Regions from separate parts of the Homo sapiens genome. Here region 2 is linked to region 1. Evidence: promoter capture Hi-C in 16 types of primary human blood cells and fetal thymus (Javierre and others, 2016). All regions are on one chromosome and are shown on one strand. Each heading gives the region's core, a stretch centred on a gene start or on the middle of the fragment in contact. The rest is flanking DNA. Distances are from core to core; before and after follow the strand shown. Region 1 holds the start of AMH (anti-Mullerian hormone). Region 2 overlaps BTBD2 (BTB domain containing 2).

Evidence for each region. Contacts are between HindIII fragments. The CHiCAGO score rates a contact against its expected background, and 5 or more counts as called.
Region 2: a fragment that was not itself captured here is called in contact with the fragment with the promoter of AMH in region 1 in 1 of 17 cell types (neutrophils); the score reaches 6.1 in neutrophils.

The regions. Positions count from the first base shown.
Region 1 is chr19:2,244,490-2,250,572 of GRCh38, forward strand. AMH (anti-Mullerian hormone) reads left to right here and starts at 4,834. Exons shown (of 5, transcript NM_000479.5): 1 at 4,834-5,255; 2 at 5,848-5,990. The coding sequence starts at 4,844. It overlaps SF3A2 (splicing factor 3a subunit 2), which reads left to right. Exons shown (of 9, transcript NM_007165.5): 3 at 55-126; 4 at 244-290; 5 at 957-1,066; 6 at 2,264-2,313; 7 at 2,393-2,533; 8 at 3,105-3,173; 9 at 3,278-4,166. The coding sequence ends at 4,057. RefSeq lists enhancers at 1,091-1,591, 1,845-2,922, 2,221-2,722, 4,777-4,916 and promoters at 1,845-4,843, 2,778-4,812, 4,564-4,843, 4,634-4,843, 4,812-4,843. The HindIII fragment of the contact is 3,946 bases long and covers 1,330-5,275 here.
Region 2 is chr19:1,980,692-1,987,114 of GRCh38, forward strand. It overlaps BTBD2 (BTB domain containing 2), which reads right to left. Exons shown (of 9, transcript NM_017797.4): 8 at 6,139-6,285; 9 at 4,757-5,958. The coding sequence ends at 5,797. It overlaps CSNK1G2 (casein kinase 1 gamma 2), which reads left to right. Exons shown (of 12, transcript NM_001319.7): 12 at 1-647. Among named protein-coding and RNA genes, the nearest start is that of CSNK1G2-AS1, 29 kb to the left of the region's middle. The HindIII fragment of the contact is 8,980 bases long and covers 684-6,423 here.

The sequences.
Region 1 (6,083 bases), core at 3,584-6,083:
GACGGCAGCAGGCCGCGATCTTCTGTCTAACGGGCCCCTGTTCTTCCCCTCCAGGACCCGTACTTCATGAAGAACCACCTGGGCTCCTATGAATGCAAACTCTGCCTGACACTTCACAACAATGAGGTGCGGCCTCTGCCTGGCTCCGGGCGGCTCGCGGCGGGCTGAGTGGCTGACGTCAGGGGGACCTGCCTGTGTCTGTCCGCCCGGCCTCGAGTCATGCGTGTTTCCTTTCCACTCCAGGGGAGCTACCTGGCACATACGCAGGGGAAGAAGCACCAGACCAACCTGTGAGTACCTCATGTCCCTTTGATGCCTGGTGCTCCAGCAGCCGTTGGCTCAAGTCTCTGTGAGCCTCGCGGGCCACTGCTCCACAGCCGGGGAGCCAGCCTGGCCTGAGCCTCCCTGGGCGCTTGAGTACGGTTCCTGGGGAGCATTAGAGAACAGAGGCATGGATGGCTGAGGCGGGCAGATCACTTGAGGTCAGGAGTTCGAGACCAGCCTGGCCAACATTGTGAAACTCCATCTCTACTAAAAATACAAAAATTAGGCCAGGCATGGTGGCACACGTCTGTAATCACAGCTACTATGGAGGCTGAGGCAGGAGAATCTTGAATCTGGGAGGCAGAGATTGCAGTGAACCAAGGTGCTGCCACTGTACTCCATCCTGGGCGACAGAGTGAGACTCTTGTCTTATTAAAAAAAAAAAAAAAGAGCAGAGGCATGGAGTTGTTGGAAGGGCCCCAGCCAGGGACAGTGAGGAGCATGACAGGAAGAGAACATGCCTGTCCTATCCCTGTCCTCAGCCAAACCCCAGGGCCCCTCCCAGGCCCCTGGCCCTCCTCATCTCTCAGCTTGTAGTGAGCTCCAAGGTCAGGGGGCTCCTGGCACCTGGGCCCATGGCTTTGGTGCCTGTGTGTGGAGGGGTCCCAGCAGCACCTCCATCCTGTCCGCAGGGCCCGGCGAGCAGCCAAGGAGGCCAAGGAGGCCCCTGCCCAGCCCGCGCCTGAGAAGGTCAAGGTGGAGGTGAAGAAGTTTGTGAAGATCGGCCGCCCGGGCTACAAAGGTGAGTCTGCCCGCAGCGGGGCCGGCCACAGCCGCTGCCGTGACATAAGTGTGTTCTTTAGTCTCCAGTGCGGGAGGTGCAGCCCTGATAGCCTCCTCCCTGAGCCACTGTTTTCCGGCCTTGGTGGCCGTCCCTCACCCACCTGCAGCCTCTGGCGTTGTGTCTGGGAGCTGTCAGGCTGGGCCCGATAAGCACCCATCTCACCCAGCAGCCCATTTCCCAGCTGAGCCACAGTCTGTGCCCTCCTGTCCGGGTCTTGTGGAAGCTTCTGGGAATTCTTGCCAAGCAAAAGAGTGGAAGTGGAGGTGTGGTGAGCCCTGGCACATCCCTCCGGTTAACCTTGAAGCCTTTGAAGGAGGACAGGGAGAAGCGGCTGTTAGAGGCAGCTCCTCCCGGACCCTCAGCAGTGGGAATGGCTAGAGGTGACCCCGGTTCAGAAAGCTGGGGAAGTGACCAGGGTGGAAGATAGAGACTTGTGTCCATAGGGTTCAGGAAGGCGGGCACGCTACCCAGCAAGTGTTCTTTACAGAAGGCGGGGACAGCCTGTGTGCCTGGCCTCCAGACAGAAGCCTGCAGGGCAGAGGTCCCGGGGCAGGTGCACCGGGTGGGCGAGGGTGGCTAGAGCGGCAGGCTCCTGGTGGGGAGGCCCTGACAGGTCCTGGGCTTGGGCTCAGGACGGTGAGGCGGCAGAGGGCTTGTGAGTGTGCGTGTCTGAGGCCGCATGGAGAGTGGCCGGGCGGCAGGCAGCCCAGCAGCCATTCTCGGGGTCCAGGCTGCTGAGCTCTGGCGGGAAGGGCATCCTCTCTCGCTCACCGTATACATGGTGTCAGCCCTGTTCAGGCGGCCCCGCTCGAATCCCAGAGCCAGGGTGCCGAGGGCCCCTCCCTACCCAGTGGCCCCAACTCCTGCTGGGTGGTATCCCAGCACCCCTGGTGAAGGGCTCTGGGGATTGGGACAAAGGAGCACCATCCTCGGTCCCTGCCTGAGTGACTCCGCAGGTAGCTCAGCTCTGGCGCACCTGTGCCTTCACCTATACCAGAATCCCAGAGCCTGGGCGGAGATTGTCTAATGGTTGCCAGAGCTGCAGGGCCTCCCCCGGGGTCCCGCTCTCGTTCAGTGGGTGGCATTAGCCTGCCCCAGGTTCCTCAGCTTCGGAGAGGACAAGCAGCCGGGACCTGAGAGCTTTCTGTGTTGCAGTGACCAAGCAGAGAGACTCGGAGATGGGCCAGCAGAGCCTCCTCTTCCAGGTGAGATCAGGGACTTGGGCGTGGGGGGCGGCCAAAGGCACCCAAGAGGCGGCTCTGCCACCCGGCCGTGTCCCTGCAGATTGACTACCCTGAGATCGCCGAGGGCATCATGCCACGTCACCGCTTCATGTCTGCGTACGAGCAGAGGATCGAGCCTCCGGACCGGCGCTGGCAGTACCTGCTCATGGCCGCCGAGCCCTACGAGACCATTGCCTTCAAGGTAGCGTGGCTGCGGGGTTCCCTGGGCCCCCTTGAGATGTGCAAGCCAGAAGGATCTGCATAGGCTGGGCAGGATGCCCCTCCCATCGGGCTTGGGGTCCCCTGGGCCCCCCCCAAGTCGGAGCCAGAAGGGTCTGCACAGGCCGGGCAGGGCACCTCTCCCATTGGGCTCTGCAGGAGGGCCTGCTTGGGCTCCACTGGGCCAATGAGAAGGGAGGCCGGCAGGGCTGAGCGCCAGGCCTGTGAGGCCTTTGCCAAGTGACCTCACTTCCTGGGCCAGGCTGCTGGAGGGCTTCCTACAGCCTGTCCCCATGCCTGGACAGGGCGGCCATCAGGAAACAAATAATACAAACGGTGACTGCCCAGGGAGGGGGCCAACAGCGTGCTAGCATTGAGGCCAGGTCTGTTTCACTCCAGAACTGAACCCTGTGCCCCACGAAAGTCTTACCAGCCTTCTCCTGGGCTCCCAGGGTAGAGTCCGGGCTGGGGAGGCTAGTGCCTCGGGCTCCCTGCCTGATGGTCGCCCTGAGGTCACAGGGACCAGGAGCCCTCTCTGTCCCCCGCCCTCCCAGGTGCCGAGCAGAGAGATCGACAAGGCGGAGGGCAAGTTCTGGACACACTGGAACCGGGAGACCAAGCAGGTGAGTGGCTCGCCCCGAGCCTGGCTCCTTCCCACCCAGCCCTGGCGGCCCTAGCCCTGCCCTAGCCCCACCCGTGCCTGCTGAACCTTTCTCCGTCTCTCTAGTTCTTCCTCCAGTTCCACTTTAAGATGGAGAAGCCCCCGGCTCCACCCAGCCTCCCTGCTGGCCCCCCTGGGGTGAAGCGGCCTCCACCCCCGCTGATGAACGGTCTGCCCCCTCGGCCACCGCTGCCTGAGTCTTTGCCACCGCCCCCGCCAGGAGGCCTGCCTCTGCCACCCATGCCCCCCACAGGGCCTGCGCCCTCAGGGCCCCCGGGACCACCCCAGCTACCCCCGCCAGCTCCAGGGGTCCACCCCCCGGCCCCAGTGGTGCATCCCCCTGCATCTGGGGTCCATCCCCCAGCTCCTGGCGTCCACCCCCCAGCTCCTGGCGTCCATCCCCCAGCCCCTGGGGTCCACCCACCAACCTCTGGGGTCCACCCCCCAGCTCCTGGAGTCCACCCTCCAGCCCCCGGGGTTCACCCACCAGCCCCCGGAGTCCACCCACCAGCCCCTGGGGTTCACCCACCAGCCCCAGGGGTCCATCCTCCCCCATCAGCGGGGGTTCACCCCCAGGCCCCGGGGGTGCACCCAGCAGCCCCCGCCGTTCACCCTCAGGCCCCAGGGGTGCACCCACCAGCCCCAGGGATGCACCCTCAGGCCCCGGGGGTCCACCCCCAACCTCCCGGGGTCCATCCGTCGGCTCCTGGGGTCCACCCTCAGCCTCCGGGAGTTCACCCCTCAAATCCTGGGGTGCACCCCCCAACTCCCATGCCCCCAATGCTGAGGCCCCCACTTCCCTCCGAAGGCCCAGGGAACATACCTCCCCCTCCCCCAACCAACTGAGAAGCTGCTCCCTCCCCCAGCAAGCCCAGCGCCAGGTGCTCTTGCCTTTTCCCACTGAGAGAAGGCTGCTCTTTTGTACTGCCCCCCGCTCATTAAACAGCCTCCCCCAGCCCTGAGTGCACTGATGTCCGCAGCGCCGCCCTACTGTGTCAGTGTGTGTGGGAGTGCCAGGCACAGCACCATCCCCCAGTTTGGGCCGACTGGGGAGGGCCTGGGGCCCGCCAGGAGACACCTGTGGGAGGCCTGAGAGATGGCTGTACCTTGGAGATGGCCTGGTGGAGGACAGACCCCACCAGCCAGCTAGGAGGGGATCTGGGGTCCTGTTCTGGGGAGGGAAGAGCAGACTCCACGATATCCTTGGGGTCTCCAGATAGCCCACCAGGGGTGGGGAGGGTGAGCAGGGACAGGGCGCCCCCACTGACTTGGGACCCTCCTCCTCCAGGCCCACACCTCAGCACCCAGGACATCTGGGCCCCCCGCCCCCAGCGCTGTCTAGTTTGGTTGCCTGGCCGTCACTCCCAGCCTGGTTCCCACTCCTGTGTCTTCTGGGGATGGCCCTCAAGGACGGCATGTTGACACATCAGGCCCAGCTCTATCACTGGGGAGGGAGATAGGCTGCCAGGGACAGAAAGGGCTCTTTGAGAAGGCCACTCTGCCTGGAGTGGGGGCGCCGGGCACTGTCCCCCAAGGTCGCGGCAGAGGAGATAGGGGTCTGTCCTGCACAAACACCCCACCTTCCACTCGGCTCACTTAAGGCAGGCAGCCCAGCCCCTGGCAGCACCCACGATGCGGGACCTGCCTCTCACCAGCCTGGCCCTAGTGCTGTCTGCCCTGGGGGCTCTGCTGGGGACTGAGGCCCTCAGAGCAGAGGAGCCAGCTGTGGGCACCAGTGGCCTCATCTTCCGAGAAGACTTGGACTGGCCTCCAGGCAGCCCACAAGAGCCTCTGTGCCTGGTGGCACTGGGCGGGGACAGCAATGGCAGCAGCTCCCCCCTGCGGGTGGTGGGGGCTCTAAGCGCCTATGAGCAGGCCTTCCTGGGGGCCGTGCAGAGGGCCCGCTGGGGCCCCCGAGACCTGGCCACCTTCGGGGTCTGCAACACCGGTGACAGGCAGGCTGCCTTGCCCTCTCTACGGCGGCTGGGGGCCTGGCTGCGGGACCCTGGGGGGCAGCGCCTGGTGGTCCTACACCTGGAGGAAGGTATGTGGGGCCCAGCCCCAAGCTTGGCACCGCCGTCTTCCTTCAGGTGGGCCGGGTCCTCCTAGGGAAGATCAGGGGCTGGCAGAGCCCCCACCCTGGGCAGGGAGGCTGTGGTCTTGTTCCTAGGACTGGGTTGCGGGTCCGTGGCCTGGAAGGTGGGCACCACACTCTGTCCTGTCCCCGAAGCCCAGCTCTTAGACTTGCCCCTGCCTCGGTGCCAGGGAGAGAGCTGCTGCCTTCTCCCCACCCCTGAAGACGACGCAGGGCTCGGGGCCAGTGGAACCCTTCTTCCCACAGCCCCAGCCTGTTCTCAGGGCCGCTGGCCTAAGATACTCCCTGCGGGGAAGGGGCTTCATCGGGCACCCCAACCCAGAGACCCCAGGGCGGCAGCCCCACCCACAGCCTCAGACGCAGCCCCTGCCTGCCCCTGCCGTCACCGCTCCCTGGCTGCAGGAAGGCAGCTAAGAGGGGCACCCTTGTCCCCCGCTTGAGGTCCCCTGCACAGTGGCCAGAGCGGCAGGGACAGATCCCAAAGATTCCCGGGGGGTGTGGCCTTCAATGGCTCAGGCGTCCCCTGCTGTCCCGGCTGCAGTGACCTGGGAGCCAACACCCTCGCTGAGGTTCCAGGAGCCCCCGCCTGGAGGAGCTGGCCCCCCAGAGCTGGCGCTGCTGGTGCTGTACCCTGGGCCTGGCCCTGAGGTCACTGTGACGAGGGCTGGGCTGCCGGGTGCCCAGGTACCAGGGAGTTGCATGGGGCAGTGCCCGGGCCGTGGCGGGGGGCATGGATTTGTTGCAGGGTCTGCAGTACTGAGAACAGCGTAGAACCAG
Region 2 (6,423 bases), core at 3,924-6,423, 260 kb before region 1:
GCCCTCCTGGGAGGGGGACAGGCATTGTTGCCAGGGGTGAGGCCGTGCCCCAGGCCTCCCCGAAACCAAAGGGGAAGGCAGGGGTGGGGCCGTGGCTGAAGCCGGCTCCCCAACCAAAATGCTGCACCAAAGCTCGGGCGCCGCGGGCACGGCTGCTGCAGTCTCTTCCCAGCCTGGCCCTGGCAAGGGGCGGGTGGGCGCTGCCAGGCGGGTGCTTCTCGACGCACTTGCTCCCGGAGGCTGCGCCCCGGCGCCTGGAACCCGAGGTGGGAGGACCGGTTGGTGTCACCCTGCTCGGCCCTCAGCCCTGCCGCGTGGGGCGCGTGGGCACGGAGCTTCCTGCCTCTCTGCTCCGACACCCGGCAAGCAGCCGGAGACAAAACGCCTTAAAGCCCCCGGCCCAGCCCTGCAGGTATATTGCAGGGGCCTGGGGGCGGCCCTGGACTGGCGGGCGGTTCCCCAGTGGGGTGCCCTGGAGGCTGCCGGGCAGAGTGGAGCAGCTTGGGGCCGTGCCCAGGGCGGTGGCTGTGAGTCTAGTTTTTGCTTTACCAAGTGTACAGAAATGGCATTTACGTTTCTCTGATGCTCCCTTGAAGCCATAGAATTTAGGGGCTTTTTTAAAAAAATAAAAGAAAAATGAAACCAAACCCAAGTGTAGAGGGATTTGTCTGGGCTTTCCACGAAGCTTGACCTGGAACGGGCGTTGCTTCCATCCCCATCCTGCCTGTCCGGGACGAGTCCGGAGCGGCTGGCGGCCTCCGGTAACAGAAACCGACTGATGAGGCGGAAGGTAAGGAAGATGGAAGCAGAGGGCAGAGCTGGGCTCTGTCTGGGGAGAGGGCAGGAGACGAGTGTTCACGTACCATGGAAAGGGGAAGTCACACACATGCGACTTGGCCCCGGGGGTCCCGTTCCCCGACACTACACAAATATACCTGAAAGCCTCAGCGACGGGGCCCAGGCAGGATGGTCCTGGCTGCTCTGACGGCGGAAGGCCTCCTTGACTCCCTCTGTTCACGCAGCAGGGCAGAAAACATCTCCACGGGGGCCACGACACTGTGAAGGGAATCAGCAGTAGCTCCCAGAAGAACAGCGGAAACTGCAGGCAGGTGAAGACCTTGGCAGCACTAGCCCCGGCTCCGCCCCGTGCCTTCTCCCCAGACAACACCCCATACCCGGCAGCAAGGGTGGAAGACCAGTACCACCGTAATATGTTGTGACAAAGCAGAAATAATGCACCTGTAAGAGTCAGATGGCAAGAGGGAAATGGAATGAGCTCATCGATGGTTTTCCCGGCAGTAGCTTGGGGATAAGGACTACTTGTCATGTGCTTTATATATTTACCCACATGTTAACCTTTTCTGATGCTCTTCATTTCTTTCTGCTGATCAGAAATTACATCTGGGACCGGGCAGGGTAGCTCACTCCTGTAATCCCAGCACTTTGGGAGGCCGAGGCTGGCGGATCACGAGGTCAGGAGTGCGAGACCATCCTGGCTAACATGGTGAAACCCTGTCTCTACTAAAAATACAAAAAATTAGCCGGGCGCCTGTAGTCCTAGCTACTGGGGAGGCTGAGGCAGGAGAATAGCGTGAACCCGGGAGGCGGAGCTTGCAGTGAGCCCAGATCTCGCCACCGCACTCCAGCCCGGGCGACAGAATCCCAAAACTACCTCTGGGATAATTTTCAGCCTGAAGAACTTCAATATTTCTTACAGTGCAGCTTTTTTTTTTTTTTTTTTGAGACAGGGCCTGGCCTAGGCTGGCGTGCAGTTGCACAGTCATAGCTCCCTGGAGCCTCCACCTCTTGGGCTCAAGCGATCCTCCCACCTCAGCCTCCCAAGTATCTGGGACCATAGACGTGCACCACCACACTCAGCTAATTGTTTTGTTCTGTTTTGTTTTTAGGTAGAGATAGGGTTGCCTGTCTGGCTCTGTTGTCCAGGCACTTGCGGAGGACGAGGTGGGAAAGTGACCCTGGGATGAGAGGCGTGAGCCACCACGCCGGGCCGAGTGCAGCTTTGTCGGTAACAAATTACAAATTAGCATTTGTTCCCTGAAAAAAATATTTATTTCACCTTTCTTAATAAGGATGTTTTTGCTGGTAGTGGCATTCCAGGTTGACAAAGTGTTTGTTTGGGACAGAGTCTCGCTGTCACCCAGGCTGGAGTGCATTGGCGTGGTCTCGGCTCACTGCAGCCTCCACCTCCCGGGTTCAAGCAGTTCTCCTGCCTCAGCCTCCCGAGTAGCTGGGATTACAAGCGTGTGCCACCACACCTGGATAATGTTTGTATTTTTAGTAGAGTCGGGGTTTCACCATGTTGGCCAGGCTGGTCTTGAACTCCTGACCTCAAGTGATCCACCCACCTCGGCCTCCCAAAGTGCTGGGATGACAGGCATGAGCCAGCATGCTCCACTGACAAAGTTTTTAAAACGCGGCGGCTCACGCCTGCAATCCCAGCACTTTGGGAGGCCGAGGCTGGTGGATCACAAGGTCAGGAGATCGAGACCATCCTGGCCAACACGGTGAGACCCCATCTCTACTAAAAATACAAAAAATTAGCCGGGCGTGGCGGCAGGCACCTATAGGCCCAGCTCCTCGGGAGGCTGAGGCAGGAGAATGGCGTGAACCCGGGAGGCGGAGCTTGCAGTGAGCCGAGATTGCACCACTGCACTCCAGCCTGGGTGACAGAGAGAGACTCTGTCTCAAAAAAAAAAAAAAAAAAAAAAAAAAAAAAATTGTGGGTCAACGTCTTTCATTCATTTTGGAAAATTCTTGGCTGTCATATAGCTTGAGTCTCATTCTCTCTCTCTCCTTCTGGGACTCCACTTACACATACGTTCAACCCTTTGGCTGTGTCACGTATCTCGATCTGTTCTGTTTTTCCATTGTTTTTACTCACTGTGCTTCACCTTGCATGTTTGTTTGTTTGTTTTTTGAGACAGAGTCTTGCTGTGTTGCCCAGGCTGGAGTGCAGTGGCGAGATCTCGGCTCACTGGCAAGCTCCACCTCCCGGGTTCACGCCATTCTCCTGCCTCAGCCTCCCAAGTAGCTGGGACCACAGGCACCTGTCACCACACCTGGCTAATTTTTGTAGTTTTTTTTAGTAGAGACGGGGTTTCATCATGTTAGCCAGGATGGTCTTGATCTCCTGACCTCGTGATCTGCCTGCCTCAGCCTCCCAAAGTGCTGGGATTACAGGCATGAGCCACCATACCTGGCTTTTTTTTTTTTTTTTTTTTTTTTTGAGACAGTCTTGCTCTGTCTCCCTGGGCTGGAGTGCAGTGGCACAATCGTGGCTTACTGCAACCTCTGCCTCCCAGGTTCAAGTGATTCTCCTGCCTCAGCCTCCCAAGTAGCTGGGATTACAGATGCACGCCACCACGCCTCGCTAATTTTTGTATTTTTAGTGGAGACGGGTTTCGCCATGTTGGCCAGGCTGGTCTCGAACTCCTGACCTCAGATGATCCACCTGCCTCGGCCTCCCAAAGTGCTGGGATTGCAGGCATGAGCCACCACGCCCAGCCTGTCATTTTTAAATGGATGCTGGACGTTGTAAATGACAGATGGTAGAAGCTGGTGCTGATGTTTCTTCACAGGGCTGTGTTTTCTTTTGGCAGGGTCCAGCGTAACAGCAGCCCAGTGAGACCCTACCAGGGTTTTGTTTTGGAGTGATGACGGCTTCCGTTCTGTCCTCCCCACAGGAGTGTTGCCCTAGCTCCTGGTGGGTGGCCCTTCTGGTGTCTTCATTAGAAGCCCAAGGTGTTTCCTTTTAATATGTATTTTTTTAGAGATGGGGTCTTGCTGTGTTGCCCAGGCTGGTCTCAAACTCCTGGCCCCTAGCAGTTCTGCCTCAGCCTGCCAAAGTGCTGGGATTGCAGGTGTGAGCCAGCACGCCCGGCCCCCAGGGTGTTCGACAAGGCCCCCTACCCCGCCAGCCTCCATCTCCATTGCCTGCTCCCAGCACTGCGCACTGTGGAGATCTGCTCAGCCTTCAGCCTCCTGGCAACTGTTTGCGGCTGGCTTTTTTTTTTTTAGACGGAGTCTTGCTTTCTCGCCCAGGCTGGAGTGCAATGGCACCATCTTGGCTCACTGCAACCTCCATCTCCCAGGTTCAAGCGATTCGCCTGCCTCAGCCTCCCAAGTAGCTGGGATTACAGGTGCCTGCCACCATACCTGGCTAATTTTTGTGTTTTTAGTAGAGATGGGGTTTCACCATGTCGGCCAGGTTGGTCCTGAACTCCTGACCTCAGGTGATCCACCCGCCCGGCCTCCCAAGGTGCTGTAATGACGTGTGAGCCACCACGCGGCCTTGCTGCCGGGTTTCTTGATGTCTTGCCCTGCACGTGTGCTCCTGAGGCAGCAGCCAACGGCTTGACTTCTCTGGCCACTGAGGCCACAACTGGGCACTCCCTGCTTTCTCTCCATCTCTCACATCCACGGTCCCCCAGCAGCCAGCAGGGCCTCCCCACGGGGAAATCGGCACACACGTCCATTGCATTTGGGTTTGGGGGGAGGTGTTGAGTTAGTTAGGGTCTTGCTCTTGCCCAGGGGGGAGGGCAGTGGTGCATCACTGCTCACTGCAGTCTCGACCTCCCGGGCTTCAGTGTGGCCTGTGGGTACTTAAGGAGGGTCTCGCAGCACTGGCGACCAGACCCGGGGTTCAGGGCCCCTCTCGGCGCACGACATCCCTCGCCCACTGCAGCCCGGATGACAGGGCAGAGAGTGAAGGGGAGCAAAGCAGTGTGCGCTCAAGGCAGGTGCATTTGTTTCTTTATTTAAAAAAATCATCTGGGGGCATGGTCTGAGGAGGACACCCCTCCCATGGCTTTGGGGAGGACGCAGGTTCCAGGAGTCACAGGGCAGAAACACGCGGGGTGGGTGGGGGCGTGGCCGGAGTGGGGAGGGGCTGTGCCCCCAGCACCTGGGGGTGGCTCCCACGGCACCAGGTGGGCTAGGGCAACAGTATGTACAGGCGAGCAGTGCTCCTGGACCCGGTCGGGGCCGGCTGGGGCCCCATTCTGCGGCAGGGGAGCTCTGGGGCACAGGGTCTGAGTCCCATCTTGGGCTGCAGGGACCGCGAGGGCCGTCCAGGGAGGCTGGACAGCGGGGGCCTTTATCTGGGCCCATCAGGTGGATGAGAACGGACACTGCAAACCGCTCACCACCTGGGCCAGGGCTAGGCCTATCCGGCAGGGGCCGTCCCCACACTGAATCCTGCGTGCGCAGAACTCAAGCCGGCATCCAGGCAGTGGGAACGCCCCGCAGGCTGGGCTTGGGTGGCCTCGGGCACGTGACAGGTGGGGCCCGTGTCCTGATAAACGGACAGGAACAAAAGGAACGCAAGGTCTGGGACCCACGGCTCTGGGAGCAGCGCCACCCAGGCTGGCTCCTAGCAGAGAAATGGGAATCGCAAATGCATTGCAATGTGCAGTGAAGAGACGCGAGGGACGCCCGCGGCGCACCGCCGGCAGACGACGTGGGCAGGCGCCCTGAGCTGCGGGTCCGTGGGCCCTGGCCCAGGCCGGCACAGCCCTGTCCCTAGTCCTGAGGGATTGTCTCCACAGGGCCTGGCCACTGGCCTGGCCACCTCCCCGGCTGCCCTGATCCAGCAGCCACACTCGTGGTGAACACAGGGCAACCCCGTCCTGATGCTGAGAAAGGTGGCATGGAGTGGACAGACGGCCTGGGGGACACTGGGCCTGGCACCGCGTGGTGGGGGGGCCCCAGCAGCAGATGATGGCCTGGGGCTGCGGCTATCCCCACGGAGGGAGGGCGGTGTCGGTGTCGGGCAGCCTAGGTGTAGAAGATGACCTCGGGGATCTGGCCGTCCTCCACGGATGTGCCATTGTTGTTCCCGGCCGCGTAGCAAAAGGTGAAGCAGGTCTTGGCGCCCGTGGTGGGCGACTCGTGTGTCACCTTGCGCAGGCCTTTGGTGCCGTAGTGGGAGTCTGGGCCCTGTAGGGAATAGGGGTACAGTGAGGTCAAGGACCACCAGGCTGGGATGCCCCAGGTGTGGACAGGGCAAGGCCCCGACTGGGCCAGGGTGGCTGCCTCTGGAGAGTGTGTGCTGTGCCCCGGTGGCTTCAGGATGGGCCAGAGACTCCCACGGAGGGACCCCTGTCCCCGGCGGCGCACCTTGAGCGTGGCACAGGCCGTGTAGTTGACGTTGGGCAGCACCTCCACCGGCTCCTTGAACATGACGCGGAAGGTGCTGGCTGAGCCGTCGCAGCTGAAGCCCGTGTCGTTCTGGCCCAAGACGGTGTTGCTATCGGTGTGAATAATCTGCGGGGAGGTGGGAAGTGGGAGGCTCAGGCCTGGGGAGGGCCAACGGGGACCCCTCGAGGCCCAGCCCACCTGCCCAGGGTGGGGGCAGCACAGGGACCAGGGCCGGGGGTTCAGCCAGGGTTCCATGGAGGTGGA